Linked DNA regions of Homo sapiens: region 1 is linked to region 2. Evidence: promoter capture Hi-C in human tissues and cell types (Jung and others, 2019). All regions are on one chromosome and are shown on one strand. Each heading gives the region's core, a stretch centred on a gene start or on the middle of the fragment in contact. The rest is flanking DNA. Distances are from core to core; before and after follow the strand shown.

Evidence for each region. Contacts are between HindIII fragments. The study calls those that stand out against the background at their distance.
Region 1: a fragment that was not itself captured here is called in contact with the fragment with the promoter of OR2AT4 in region 2 in 2 of the 25 tissues and cell types used here (IMR-90 fibroblasts and lymphoblastoid cells).

What each region holds. Positions count from the first base shown.
Region 1 is chr11:75,204,959-75,211,996 of GRCh38, reverse strand. TPBGL-AS1 (TPBGL antisense RNA 1) reads left to right here. Exons shown (of 6, transcript XR_950308.4): 5 at 1,590-1,635; 6 at 3,864-5,959. It overlaps LOC124902716 (a long non-coding RNA gene), which reads right to left and starts at 1,174. Exons shown (of 2, transcript XR_007062782.1): 1 at 989-1,174. SLCO2B1 (solute carrier organic anion transporter family member 2B1) reads right to left here. Exons shown (of 14, transcript NM_007256.5): 14 at 5,448-7,038. The HindIII fragment of the contact is 3,195 bases long and covers 1-2,973 here.
Region 2 is chr11:75,094,616-75,101,419 of GRCh38, reverse strand. It overlaps OR2AT4 (olfactory receptor family 2 subfamily AT member 4), which reads left to right and starts at 4,544. Exons shown (of 2, transcript NM_001405852.1): 1 at 4,544-4,592. It also overlaps the pseudogene LOC100421207. RefSeq lists enhancers at 676-745, 1,016-1,085, 361-1,560 and a cis regulatory region at 4,170-4,685. The HindIII fragment of the contact is 12,596 bases long and covers 3,752-6,804 here.

The DNA.
Region 1 (7,038 bases), core at 127-2,626, 110 kb before region 2:
AGGATGCAAGGAAGAGGTCACCTGCTTTAGAGTGGCTTAAACTTTTTATTTTTTAATGAGGCCAGAAGAAGTTGGAATGAGGATTGGTCTGCTGATTCAACAATGTCTTTGATGACCCAGGCATTTCCCATTCTGAGCCTCGAGGGTGACTACCCCTGTGATTGCAAGATGACTGAGTGCCATCAGGAACCATGTCCTCCCAAGCAGGGAGAAAGGGCATGGTAGCAAAAAGGGTATTCTCCCTTCACATCATTCTCTTATCCAGGAGAGAAGCTTTCCCAGCAGACTATCCCCAAACATGTCATTGACTAAGACGAGGTCACATGTCTACTCTTGGACCACTTTCTGGCAAAGGGGAAGGCATTTCCATTGCTGCCTTGGATCATCCCTGTGGCTGAGCACCTTGCTACCAGAATGAAGAAGAGAGCATTTGCCATGGGAAGGCAACCAATACAACCTGCCATACTCATCTTCTGTTTTCTCTCTGGATTGCCCTCCTACCTCCTCTCCATCTCCGCCAGGAAGTCTTCCCTGGTTGCCAGGGCCTTGTCCGGCACACCCTCTTCTAATGTAATTGAACATTGTTTAATTCAAGTTACATTTCACTTTGCCAAAGATTTCTCACCTTATCATGTCCAGATCTTATCTTCTCAACCAGGCTGTGATAGGTCATTGCAAGAGTTATAGCAGCGACTAATGAATAAGTACCTACTGTGTGTCAGGCACTGGTCTGAGTGCTTGTTGTAGCCAGCTTCCAAATGGCTCCCAATGATCCATACCCCCTGGTATTCATGCCTTTTTGTATTCCCCTCCCACATTATACCAGGGTTTGTCTACATGACCAAGAGAATATGGCAAAAGTTACGGTATGTTTCTTCCAATATTAGATCATAAAAGGCACATGGAATCAAAGCTTTTGGTCAACTGCCAACAAGGTACAGAGGCCCAACAGCAATCATCGAATGAACTTGGAAGTGGATCCTCTCACCCCAGTTGAGCCTTCTGATGACTGCAGCCCTGGCTGATGCTTGACTACAACTTCATCAGAAATCCTCATGAAGATCCAGCACCTTCCAGTTAGCCCATCTGTGGGTTCTTGACCCTCAGAAATTCTATGAGATAATAAATATTTGTTGTTTTAAGTTGCTAAACTTTGGGAAAATTTATTTTTTGGTTTTGGGGGGTTTTTTGAGGCAGGGCCTTGCTCTGTTACCCAGACTGGAATGCAGTAGTACAATCACTGCTCACTGCAATCTTGACTTCCTGGGCTCAAGCAATCCTCCCACCTAAACCTTACAAGTAGCTGAAACTACAGGTGTGGGTGCTACCACCCTTGGCTAAGTTTCTTTTTATTATTATTATTATTTTTTGGAGAGATGGGGCCTCACTGTGTTGCCCAGGCTGGTCTCAAACTCTGGGGCTCAAGTGATCCTCCTGCCTCAGTCTCCCAAATGGCTGGGATCACAGGTTTGAGCCACTGTGTCAGCCAGAAAATTTATTACTCAGTAGTAGATTACTATATTGCTACTTTATCACATTAAATCCTCTCAACGATTCTGATAGGTGAAGCTTATTTATCCCTTTTACAGATGAGAAAACCAATGCTCCGATGAGTGCAGTGACTTCCCATGCCTGGTAAGTGGCAGAGCTTGGATTGACCTTCCTGTCTGTTGGATTCCAAAGCAGAGGGACCTGGGTTCTGTTTTCCCAGCTGGAATGTCCCCAGCTGCAGGATGAAGGCTGAGGAAATGGGGACATAAAAAGGAAACCTCTTTCTCTGATGTGTTTTCTCTCCTCCCCCCTTTTTTCATCCCAACCACATTAGTTAGCACTTACTACATCTATTGTACATATGTGATTCAGGGACAAGTAGGTTTATTAGCAACAACATGGGAGCCTTAGGAGGGGGATACCTGGGCTCTTGAGTGACCTTGGGCAAGTTTCTGCACTTTTCTGGGCCTCAGTTTCTTTACCTACTACATGGCAATAATAATCCCTTTCCTGCCTTCTTCACCAGGAAACCATGAGGACGGGGTGTAAAGGGACTGTGTAAAATGTGAAATGTAGTGAACACTAAAAGGTGTGTTTGGACTAAGGAGCACCCCTGACCTAGGGCTCAGACCTGTACAGCCACCTCTGTACAGAGGTGAGGGCTCCCTCTCCTCTCTCACCTGGGGCTAGGTTCGGGAGGTGGACAACACTGAGTGGCATTGAGAGCATCAACCCACTTTCTTCAGCCTCACCCTCTCCATGCCTTCTCTCTTAGGCCATGCTGCAGCCCTGCTAAACTAGTGGAAATACCCCAAGCCTGCCAGGAGGTTTCTGTCTACTTTGTCTGTGCAGTTTCTTCTGCCTTGACACCCTTCCCAACTTCTCTTCCTGGTGCATTCCCACTCGTCTTTCAAGACTGACCTTAGATATCCCACTTCTAGGATGCCTCTCCTGACCTGGCTGTAGTCCTCCTACTTCTCTTGATTGTTGCACCTGCCCCCTGCCTGAGCTCTTGGCCTTCAGCTTCTCTTTTCCACTCAAAGCCCCCATGGTGCAACCAGCGGCCTTTCCAAAATGCAAATCTTGTCATGTCACTCCCTGCTTAAAATAACTGGCCAATGGAATAATCCATCAATCAGTGCTTCAGGGGTTCCTCCTTGCCCTCAGGGAAGCATCCACACCTTCAGCTGGGTCTCCATGCTTGGTCCCTGCTGGTCTTTCCAGCCTCTGCTCTCTTCTGTCTCCTGATTGCCCTGCACATGCAGTGCCCTCCAGCCACATTGCTCTTGTCACTGTATCTCAGACACACCTCTCTCTATCTTTGCTCGTCCTGTTGTTTTTCCTGCCCATTTCCACCTTGTCCACTTGAGGAAGTCCTGCCTAATCCTTAACACCAGGTCTGATATAACCTCTTGGAAGCCTTCCCTATTGGCCCCAGGAAGAGTCCTTGGCTTCCTCTTCTTCCCTCTCCTGTATGACTACTCATGCTTTTGTTACTGTTTGTCGTCTGTTTACACTGAGAGTTTCCTGAGTAGAGACTGTATCTGACACATGGTTGTGTCCCCAGCAATGCCAGGAGAAGGGCACAGAGCAGACATGTAGGATATGTGTTGCTCATGTGAGTGGCTGAATGAATGAAGGAAGGAAGGGTGAATGAATCCAACCTTGAACCATCACTTCTTGGCCAGCCCTAGAACTGCTGTTTCCCAGGGTAAGCCCATTTGATAGCCAAAGGGGAAGTAGAAGGGAGGGACTGCTCTAGGAGGGAGAAAGAAAATCAATAAAAATGTAAATCTGGTTGAGAAAAGCTGTCCCAAGCTGGCTGTGGGGAGAGATAAGACTGGGCTGGCTGAGCCCTGGCTGACAGTGGAGGAGAGATTGGGGACAACGGAGCTGTGGCCAGGGTAGGGCAAAGGAGGTGTGTTCCTCCCTCTGTTGTCACTTCCCCCTCCGACTCTGATGCTCTATGTGTTTATGAAATTTTTTCAGGGACAGAAGGGGAAGGGAGCTTACAAATCCTGATCATCAGGTGTGGTGCCTGTGAGCATGTACATGATCTTACCCGGTCCTCACAGCTTCTGGGAGATAGGAGCTAGGCATGCTCAACCTCACTTGCAGGTGAGCAAACTGAGGTGCAGAGAGGTTAAATCATTTGTTCATCGTCACACTGTAATAAGTGGCAGAGTCAAGATTTGATCCCAAGTCTGACTCTCTCCACAACTCTATAATCTTTTCACTCCATTAAGGGCTTTTGACTGGGGACCTGGGATGCTTAGGAGGTCTACACCCAGGCATCATATGGTCTTCAACCTCTGAAATCATATGCACAATTGTGTATATGTCTCTGTGTGTGTGTTTTGTTTTATATTTAGTGGAGAGTCTATGCCTTTGATTGGATCCCCAGAGGTGGTTTTCACTTGCCCCCCATTGCCTATACCATGTTGCCTTCCTGGAGTTGGTGGCCTTTGAGCTGGGCCTGGAAGATTGGGTAGGACTTTATGAAGTGGGGATGGAGAGACAAGCTGTGCGATGGGGATGAAGAAGATAACCCAGGTCAGAGGGAACAGCATAAGCAAAGGTATGTGAAGGGGAAAGAATTCAACACCTCCAGGCAATGGTGAGGATGTCGCTGAGTTCTCTTTCACTTATCTGCATGTCAGTCATGACCCCTGGATGCCAGCTCCTGATGGGTCATCTGCCTACCCTAGAACTTCCCAGCATCTAGCATCCCAGACCTTCCCAGAGTCTACAAGAAAAGAAACCTAGGCATCAGGATGTCAGTTCTGGTCTGAGTCCTGTCCTCTGCTGACTTTACACCAGCACAATCTAGCAGGGAGACTTAATGTCTTCTCCTCCCAGCTTCCTGGTACAGTGTAAGAAAGTAAGCTTGCAGATGCAAATGCTTGTGGCTCTTCATTGACCAGAGGCTATATTAGGGGAGAGGACTTCCCTGGGACCCCCACAGGGCCTGGAAAACCCCTCTGGCCCTGACTTGCTCCACCCCTTGGCTCTTGACCCATTTCTCTCTTGGGTAACTCCTGAGTCTCCTCACCATGTCCAGTTTGGAAGACTTTAGGCACAAGGACCTCGTCTTTTCCTTCAGATCTTGGCTCAACCAAGAGGCGGACTCACCGTGATGTGAATGCAGCTTGAGCATCCAGGACTCTCCCCAGATCCAGGGAGGGCCTCAGCGATGTGTTCACGTTGTCATATTTTTATAAAATTTGCAAAGGTAAGATACTTTAACCACAATCAAAATTACTATTTTCTTCCCACTCCAACTTCCCTTGTGTTTCAATTTTCCTTTATGTGGGATAATTGGAGTGGCCATGGGCACTTCTGGGATCTGACCAAGGGGAAGCTGAGTGGGGGACTGATTTGAGTTGGGTTCACTGGGATATGTTTATGTGGTTTTCTGAAACAGAGGATATATTAATATTTATGTGGTTCTCTGTGTATAGATAAATCATTGCTAGTAATCTCTGTGTAGAGAATAGCTTCTAGGAATTCTACCCACTGCCCAGCTCACTTGGCATGGTGATATTAAGTTGCCATATGCAGAGGTCATATCGTGATATGAATGTGTGTCATGGCACCCAGCCCAGGAAGTATATGGGCAGTAGACAAGAAACAGGAGAAACCAGGTTTGAAATGTACAGAGCCAGAAGCTAGTCTGTGGAAAATTCTTCTAATCATCAGGGGGAGAAAATGTGTCTCAGAGGTTAAGCAGGGCAGTTAATAAAAGTATTACGCATTTTGGGGGGATTGTGTGATGTATCTGTTTTGATTTCTTTTCTCATTATAGGTAAATATAGGTACCTTGTACCTAATTTTATATTCATAATTTTGTATATTTTTCTTAAAGAGGGCTCCTCAAATTATAAAACCTTCAGTTCCCACAAGGTCTACACATCCAACCTTGGCTCCATCATTTATTTTCTGTGTGATCTTGGGGAAGTCACTTGTGCTTTCTGAGCCAGTTTCCTCTTCTATAAAATGTGAATGACAATTTGGACAGGTGAGGATTCAGAAATCCTCATGACCTTATTCCATTTTTGAAACCATTAGTAGACGAAGACACTCAAACAAAAATTAGACCAGAATATAAAGATTGGAAAAGATGTAATATACAAGCAATAATGGTGAGCAATGAATCCAGTAAAACCTAAATCTAAGTTAATGGAAATGATGTGGTTGTTGCAAACCTCTAATGCAGTTTATGAAGAAAGAATTTTTGTAATAGAAGAGACATTATGCAAGAACAAATTTAATAATAAGCTGTATCTATAATTCCAGACTTTTTTTCCCTGCAAAACCTGGGAAACAAGAGGGATGAAGGAATATAAACATCCTAAAAGCCTCATATTGTTGAAGGAGACTTTGAAATTCTTGGCGTTGATAGATACATGCTCAGATATTTATTAAACATTTACAGATACCAACCAGCAAAATAAAAAGGGAATTGGAACTTCTGTACCTCCCTTTTCTTTTATCATGTGGGAAAGTCTCAAAGCCCTGGCACTGGGAGCTGCTCAGAAGGCAAGGGCCACATGTGCCCCCAGCTTCCCCCCACCCCCAGCACAGGGCCAGGAAGCCACTGCTGGTGGCTCCCTGTCTGCTGCCTCCCGAGCAGTAGGTCCCAGCGAGGTGGGGTGGTAATAGGTTGGGCTGGGAGCAGATTAGCAAACCCTCTCCTCCCCGCAAGGAAATAACCAGGCCAGATAAGACTAGCCATAAAACAAAACAAGGGCTGATGTAGAAAAGGATTGGATCATAAGACACGAGCAAGCCATAGCATCACTCATTACACAGAGCTGAGCTTTACTGCTCCCAGCACTACAGTCCTGGGCCTGACACCAGCCCAGGCATCGGAGAACCAGGTGCCACCCCCAAAAAACAGTGTCACAGAACTAAACATTATCCACACTGCCCCAGGTGACACAGACCCAGGCACCCAGGAGAAAATAGAGAAATTAGGATCCTAGTCACAAAGGTCACAGGGACTTTGGTGGCCCCTGGTCACATGTGTGAAATCTTGGCAATGTGTAGGAATCAGTGAGTGCGCGCTGAGTGTGTGTTTGTCTGAAATTAGAAAATACCCAAGTGTGGGCCTGAGTCTCCCTCCCTACCCCAGGGCCCAGACTTGCCCACCCAGGGCCCTAAGGCAGGTGTTGGGCCTCACCCTCAACCGTGGCTCCCTGAGGGCAAGGGCTAGAATTTCCTGAGATGGAGAGTGAGTCTCCCCGCTTCAGCTAAGGATTCCTGGGGCCCCCACACAGGCCTCTTGAAGGCCCTGCCAAGTCTGGGTGTCCCACTCCTGAGGCCAGCTCCGTCCTCCCTGTGGGAGTCTACCCAGGGTCCAGCTCAGTGCTCTGCCTCCAGGGGGCGCCAAAGGGACACTTCTTAAAGGCTGCTGGAGTTGGGGAGGAGAGCTGAGTGTACCCTGACCGCACAGATGGTCATAGCTGAACGAGCCTGAAGGCTGGCAAGTTCATTCCTACCTGACAGGAGATGGCTAAGGCTCAAAGAAGGTGATCCAGGCGAGTG
Region 2 (6,804 bases), core at 3,295-5,794:
CCAGCCAGTTAAGCATGTTTTAAACAAGTTCTGATCATTGTTACTATGGCTATAGAAAAGCCAGTCATTTCCTAGCAGGATGAGGAGAGTTTTATTCTTAGAGGTAATAAAAGAAATCCTATTTTATCCCATAATGTTATAAAAGTAAGTCTTAGAATGTTGGCTTTTTATACAAAGAAATCTCAGCCAACAGTTTTACTCTCTATTTTGGTTCATTCTCTTTAGTAAAACAAAATAGGAAATCCAAAAGGATTCTAAATTTTAGTTTTTGTTTGTTTTCTCCTACTTATTGCAATTCTCTTAACTGTTGCACTCCATATGGGTTATTTCAGCCCAAGTGCCCAAGTCTTTTAGTTACTTTCATACATAACATCTCGAAAGCCTTAAGTCATTCTTATGCCGCCAAAAGATGGCTTTTTAAGGCTTATTAGGGATCTCATCACGTCTAAGAAATGGAAAACAGAACAAAAGAATCCACCTAACCACCTGGTGATTTTGCAGGATTCTTTGCCTTTAACTTAAGAGAGCTTAGTCTTCTCCCCCAGAAACATCTTTAGCACTTACCTTTATGGCACCAAAGCGAAGATCCACATAAATTTATCCCAAACCAAAATTCTTCTCTTTAGCAAGTAGTGAGTAGATCCAGACAGGAGGAGACAGCACATACAGTTCTGCTTGTGATTCAAAGAAACTTCCCAAACCATCTTTAGCTCCATCATGAAGTTTATCAGGTCAGGAGAGGGCTGTAACCTCTGTTGTACCATGTTTTCATTTCCATCGTGTTCTGTACTCAGCTGCTAAGGACTTAGTAACCTCCCAGTCTGCAGTTGAAAGTCTACAGTCTGCAGAGGTCTAATAGGGAAGTCTCTTCTGCAGGCTGAAATGAACCCTTCATGCATGGGTTTTCCCCTGGTCCTGGGCAGAAGCATCAGGCCGGGTGTAACAGGGTCATCTCAGTCATCACTGTGACTCAGCATCCTCAAAGCTTCTGGGTTTGAAGCTGGGATAGTCCCTGCACATGCACACCCCATTCCATTTGAAAATGTGCTGACTGCTTGGCCCAGAAGTTCTACTTCTAAGGATCTGTCTATCTCCGAGAAATATTTGAGCACATGTGACCCCAAATGCATGTTAAAAGGAAATTAATTATAATAGTTTTCATAATAGCAAGAATGAGATAGAACTTAAATGTTCATCAACAGATGAGTTATTAGACAAACTATGTTGTATCTGTACTACAAAATGCCAAATATCAGATACAAAAAAATGAAGTAGATCAGACACAGAAAAATTCCTAGACTTATTAAATTAAAATATGCTATACAATAAATACAGAATGATTCAATTTACATTAAAAGAAAAGCAAAACCATACACACATACACAAACACATGCGCTTAGAAAAGTCTGGAAGAAACACACCAAATCAGTAATAATGTTTACTTCTGGAGCATGGAGGAAAAATGTGGGTAAGAATTGGTGTGAAGAAGACTAACTAACTCTTCTTTCTTTTCTTTCTTCCTTCCTTTCTTTCTGACAGGATCTCACTCCATTGTTAAGACTGGAGGAAAAATATGGGTAAGAATTGGTGTGAAAAAAAACTTTCTCTCTCTTTCTCTCCCTCCCCTCCCTCCCTTCCCTTCCCTCCCTTCCTCCCTTCCCTCCCTCCCTCCCTTCCCCCACTCCCTTCCCTCCCTTCCTCCCTTCCCTCCCTCCCTTCCCCCACTCCCTTCCCTCCCTCCCTCCCTTCCCCCACTCCCTTCCCTCCCTTCCCCCCTTCCCCCCTTCCACCACTCCCTTCCTTCCTGGGTCTCACTCCATTGCTAAGGCTAGAGTGCAGAGGCACAGCTGTGGCTCACTGCAGCCTGAACTTCCCAGGCTCAGGTGTTTCTCCTGCCTCAGCTTCCCTGGTAGCTGATGGGTCCGGAATTGGTGGGTTCTTGGTCTCACTGACTTCAAGAATGAAGCCACGGACCCTCGCGGTGAGTGTTACAGCTCTTAAGGTGGCGCGTCTGGAGTTTGTTCCTTCTGACGTTCGGATGTGTTGGGAGTTTCTTCCTTCTGGTGGGTTGGTGGTCTCACTGGCTCAGGAGTGAAGCTGCAGACCTTCGCGGGGAGTGTTACAGTTCTTAAGGCGGCGCATCTGGAGTTGTTCGTTTCTCCCGGTGGGCTAGTGGTCTCACTGGCTTCAGGAGTGAAGCTGCAGACCTTCGTGGTGTTACATCTCTTAAGGCAGCGCATCTGGAGTTGTTCGTTCCTCCTGGTGGGCTTGTGGTCTCGCTGGCTTCAGGAGTGAAGCTGCAGACCTTCGCGGTGAGTGTTACAGCTCATAAAAGCAGTGTGGACCCAAAGAGTGAGCAGTAGCAAGGTTTATTGCAAAGAGCGAAAGATCAAAGCTTCCATAGTGTGGAAGGGGACCTGAGCGGGTTGCCACTGCTGGCTCGCGCAGCCTGCTTTTATTCTCTTACCTGGCTCCACCCACATCCTGCTGATTGGTAGAGCCCAGTGGTCTGTTTTGACAGGGCGCTGATTGGTGCGTTTACAATCCCTGAGCTAGACACAAAGATTCTCCAAGGCCCCACCAGAGCAGCTAGATACAGAGTGTCCATTGGTGCATTCGCAAACCCTGAGCTAGACACAGGGTGCTGATTGGTGTGTTTACAAACCTTGAGTTAGATACAGAGTGCCGATTGGTGTATTTACAATCCCTGAGCTAGACATAAAGGTTCTCCACGTCCCCACCAGACTCAGGAGCCCAGCTGGCTTCACCCAGTGGGTCCCGCACCGGGGCTGCAGGTGGAGCTGCCTGCCAGTCCCGGAGCCATGCGCCCACACTCCTCGGCCCTTGGGTGGTCGATGGGACTGGGTGCTGTGGAGCACGGGGCAGCACTCATCGGGGAGGCGGGGGCCGCACAGGAGCCCAGGGAGGGGGTGGGAGACTCAGGCATGGCGGGCTGCAGGTCCCGAGCCCTGCCCCGCGGGAAGGCAGCTAAGGCCCAGAGAGAAATCGAGCACAGCGCCAGTGGGCTGGCACTGCTGGGGGACCCAGTACACCCTCCACAGCCGCTGGCCCGGGTGCTAAGCCTCTTATTGCCTGGGGACAGCAGGGCCGGCCGGCTGCTCTGAGTGTGGGGTCCGCCAAGCCCACGCCCACCCAGAACTCCAGCTGGCCTGCAAGCGCAGGCGCAGCCCTGGTTCCCACTCGCGCCTCTCTCTCCACACCTCCCTGCAAGCTGAGGGAGCCGGCTCCGGCCTTGGCCAGCCCAGAAAGGGGCTCCCACAGTGCAGCGGTGGGCTGAAGGGCTCCTCAAGTGCCGCCAAAGTGGGAGCCCAGGCAGAGGAGGCACCGAGAGCGAGCGAGGGCTGTGAGGACTGCCAGCACGCTGTCACCTCTCACTGAGACTACAGGTGCATGCCACCATGCCCAGCTAATTTTTTTGTATTTTTCAGTAGAGATAGAGTTTTGCCAGTTGTCCAAGCTGCTCTCTTACTCCTGGACTCAAGAGATCCTCCCCCTTCGGCCCGGCAAAGTGCTGGGATTACAGGCGTGAGCCACCACACCCGGCCTAGAACTTTCACTTTTGACTCAGTAAAGCTCTGTATTGATTAAAATGTTCTACAATGAGGTTCTGTTTATTACTTGTGAAATTAAAAAAAAATTAAAATTTTATGAGTATTAGTAGGAGTGACCAAGTCAGTCAAGTCAGAAACAGAACACTGGAGCCAAAGGAGAGAATCAGAAAGATTGAGGCAGGAAGAGTCTGTGACTCTTGACTTTGTCCTGTATGGGGTTGGGGCAGAGACTTCCACCCTCACATTCTTTCCACAAAACCTTTGCAAGTTCTCATTGCACAGCAGCGGAAGTATCACATACTCATTGAACAAGGCTTTACTGCTTTGGTCCATTAAAATAATAGCTCCCACTTATTGAATGCCTAATAAGTGGCAGGAACTGGGTGAAGCACCTCAACCTGCCCAGTTATCCTGTGAGAGAGTTAGTGTCGTTATACCCATTCCACAGATGACAAAATGAAGACCCAGTGAGGTTAAGGGATTTGTTCAAAGTCATATTACTGGGAATAACTCGGGTCTTAGTCATTAGATAACATGTTGCTGAACCACTGAACCAGAATTGGAGCCTTGGGTACAAATCCCAGCTCTGCCACCAGCCACTCATATGACCTTGGGCAAGTCACCTCACTTCTCTAGATCTCAGTTTCCTCAAATGTAAAATAGTGGAAATAATCCTGACTCTGCCTGTCTTCCCTGGCTATTGTGAGGACCAGATGGGAAAACAGGAATAATACTGGTGATAAAGTTCTGGGACCCATGAGGGTTGTTAATGATGTTGTTTTCATTATCAGCAAAGCCCAGAACAAAGTCCCCCACTCCACCCTCGGAAGTTGTTCTCAGCTGACTGGCAGTTATCTGGTCCCACGGGTGAGCCTTCTTGTGGGGAGAGAGCCCCAGCAGGCCTGGTTGCAGAGAGGGGCCCGAGGGTTTAAAGGGCCATGGTTGAGTTTCTACCTGGCTCTTCCCAACCAAGGCCAACTGTGACGACTCTACACAAGACATCAAGGCGGACCAGGATTGGTAGGTGAGCTGGGCTGGGGATGGAGTGCGCAGAGCAGGCAGAGACTGGGATGGGGAGATAGGCTCAGGGAGGTTGGGGGCATGTACAACCACAGTAAAGATCCTGGGAATGTCAGGGTCCCAGGATCCAAGTCAACCACGCAGTCAGCCTGGGTGAGTGTAGACCAGACACCCTCGCAGGCAGGGGCAGGGCTGTGCAGTCACAAGCAAGAGGCTAATGATCTTGGAAGAGAATTCCTCACAAGGAGGCAAAGCTGATGACGATAAGAGAAATGGGAATAATTTGTGAGGGAATTGCAGTCCATTGGAGGAAAGCACAAAGTGGTGGAGCCAGGAAGGAAACTCAGGCCTTTCTAACTGCAAAGTTAATAGACCTAGATTCTGTGCTTCACGTATATCCTGCTCCTTTTCTATGGAAACAGTGCAGGATGGTGAGAATATCATGAGAGAACTGCATGAGTTTGGGCGTCGTAATGATGTGTAATGACTGTAAAGAATCAAGCAGGCAACAGAAGCTTAACAAATGAGAGCGCCCTTGCTCTCCTTCCTAAGAGGCTGAGGCCATGACACATCTGTCTTCGAATCTCTCATTTATCTAAACACAGAGTAGATACTCAAAATATTTATCAAGCTGGAGATCATTGCTTCCAAAGTCCTCATTTTATAGATGGGAAAACTGAGGCTCAGAGACCCAGCATCACAGCAAGAGAGTGGCAGAGCTGGTCCAGGAGAGCTCAAGGTGAGTTGATAATCTAGCTCTGTTGACAGTCTAGTTCTAGTTCTATCACCCACTTACTGTGTGACCTTGGGAAAGTCACAGCCCATTTCTGGGACTCCCTTTTCTGTCCCCATCTATATAATAAAGAGGTTAGGTGAAATGCCAGCACTTTGGGAGGCCGAGGCGGGCAGATCACTTGAGATCAGGACTTCAAGACCAGCCTGGCCAACATGGTGAAACACCATCTCTACTAAAAATACAAAAATTAGCCGGACATGGTGGCAAGCGCCTGTAATCCCAGCTACTCGGGAGGTTGAGGCATGAGAATCGCTTGAACCCGGGAGGCAGAGGTTGCAGTGAGCCGAGATCGTGCCACTGCACTCCAGCCTGGGTGATAGAGCAAGACTCAATCTCAAAAAAAAAAAAAAAAAAGAGGTTAGGTGAAAACTATTTAATCACTAATGGCCCCTTCATTCCTATTTGATGATTTATCAGCAAAACAAGGCAAGTTGGAAAGCTGCATTCCAGAGCACTAAGCTCCTGGGAAGGATGGTGCAGTATCAAATAGAAACGATCAGACCCCATTACTGCTCTGAAAGTGCTCCTGGTGTGGTGGACACATAAATAGACAGAGACAACCTGGTGTAATCATAATAATGACAAACAGAAGCACAGGAACTTCAAGAGCCCAGGAAAGAGGCTCCTGAGCCAGCCAGGACCATAGAAGATCTCTTGGAGGAAGTAATATTTGAGCTGAATTTGGCAGAAGCACAAGGCAAGAGCAAGGAGTTGCCATTTGACTAGAATAAGGAGAAACAAGGCTGCAAGAAGACAGGCTTTGAATAGCAGGCTAAGGAATCATCCTCTCTCATGAAACATCCTACAAAGACTGGGTGGGAGCCAGGACACCGGCTTTAAAACCTACTTCTGCTATGAATTTGTTGGTTGACCTTGAAAAGACACTATTTCTGGACTTCAGACTCAGCATCTGTCTCCCTGCTGTTTAATAGAAGTGAGGGAGGAGGTGGGAAGAGAGGCTCAGTCAGGCTTGACGGCTCTGAATTTCTCCCCTCAAACCCCAATTCAGCCTAACTCGGTGGCATTCAATCCATAATTGACTTCTCTGAGCTGTAACAACGTTCAGAATAAGGTAGTTTGCATCTCTTTGGGTATTAGAAAAACCTGGTGATTTGCTTAGGCAGGTTGGGTCTGTTAACTGAGGGTTATCTCTTAAGTGGAGGTGCAGCAGTTTTGCTTTCCTGCTTGTGTAATTGGGGCCGAACTGTAGAATACTCTTTCAAGGGAGCATTCACAATGGAGTGGTCTGTCCCATGTGTCTTTTTGTTTATTTGTTTTGTTTAAAAGACAGGGTCTCCCTCTGTTGCCCAGGCTGGGGTGCAGTGGCATGATTATAGCTCACTGCAGTCTTGAACTCCTGGGCTCAAGTGATCCTCCTGCCTCAGCCTTCTGAGTAGTGAGACCACAGGCACAAGC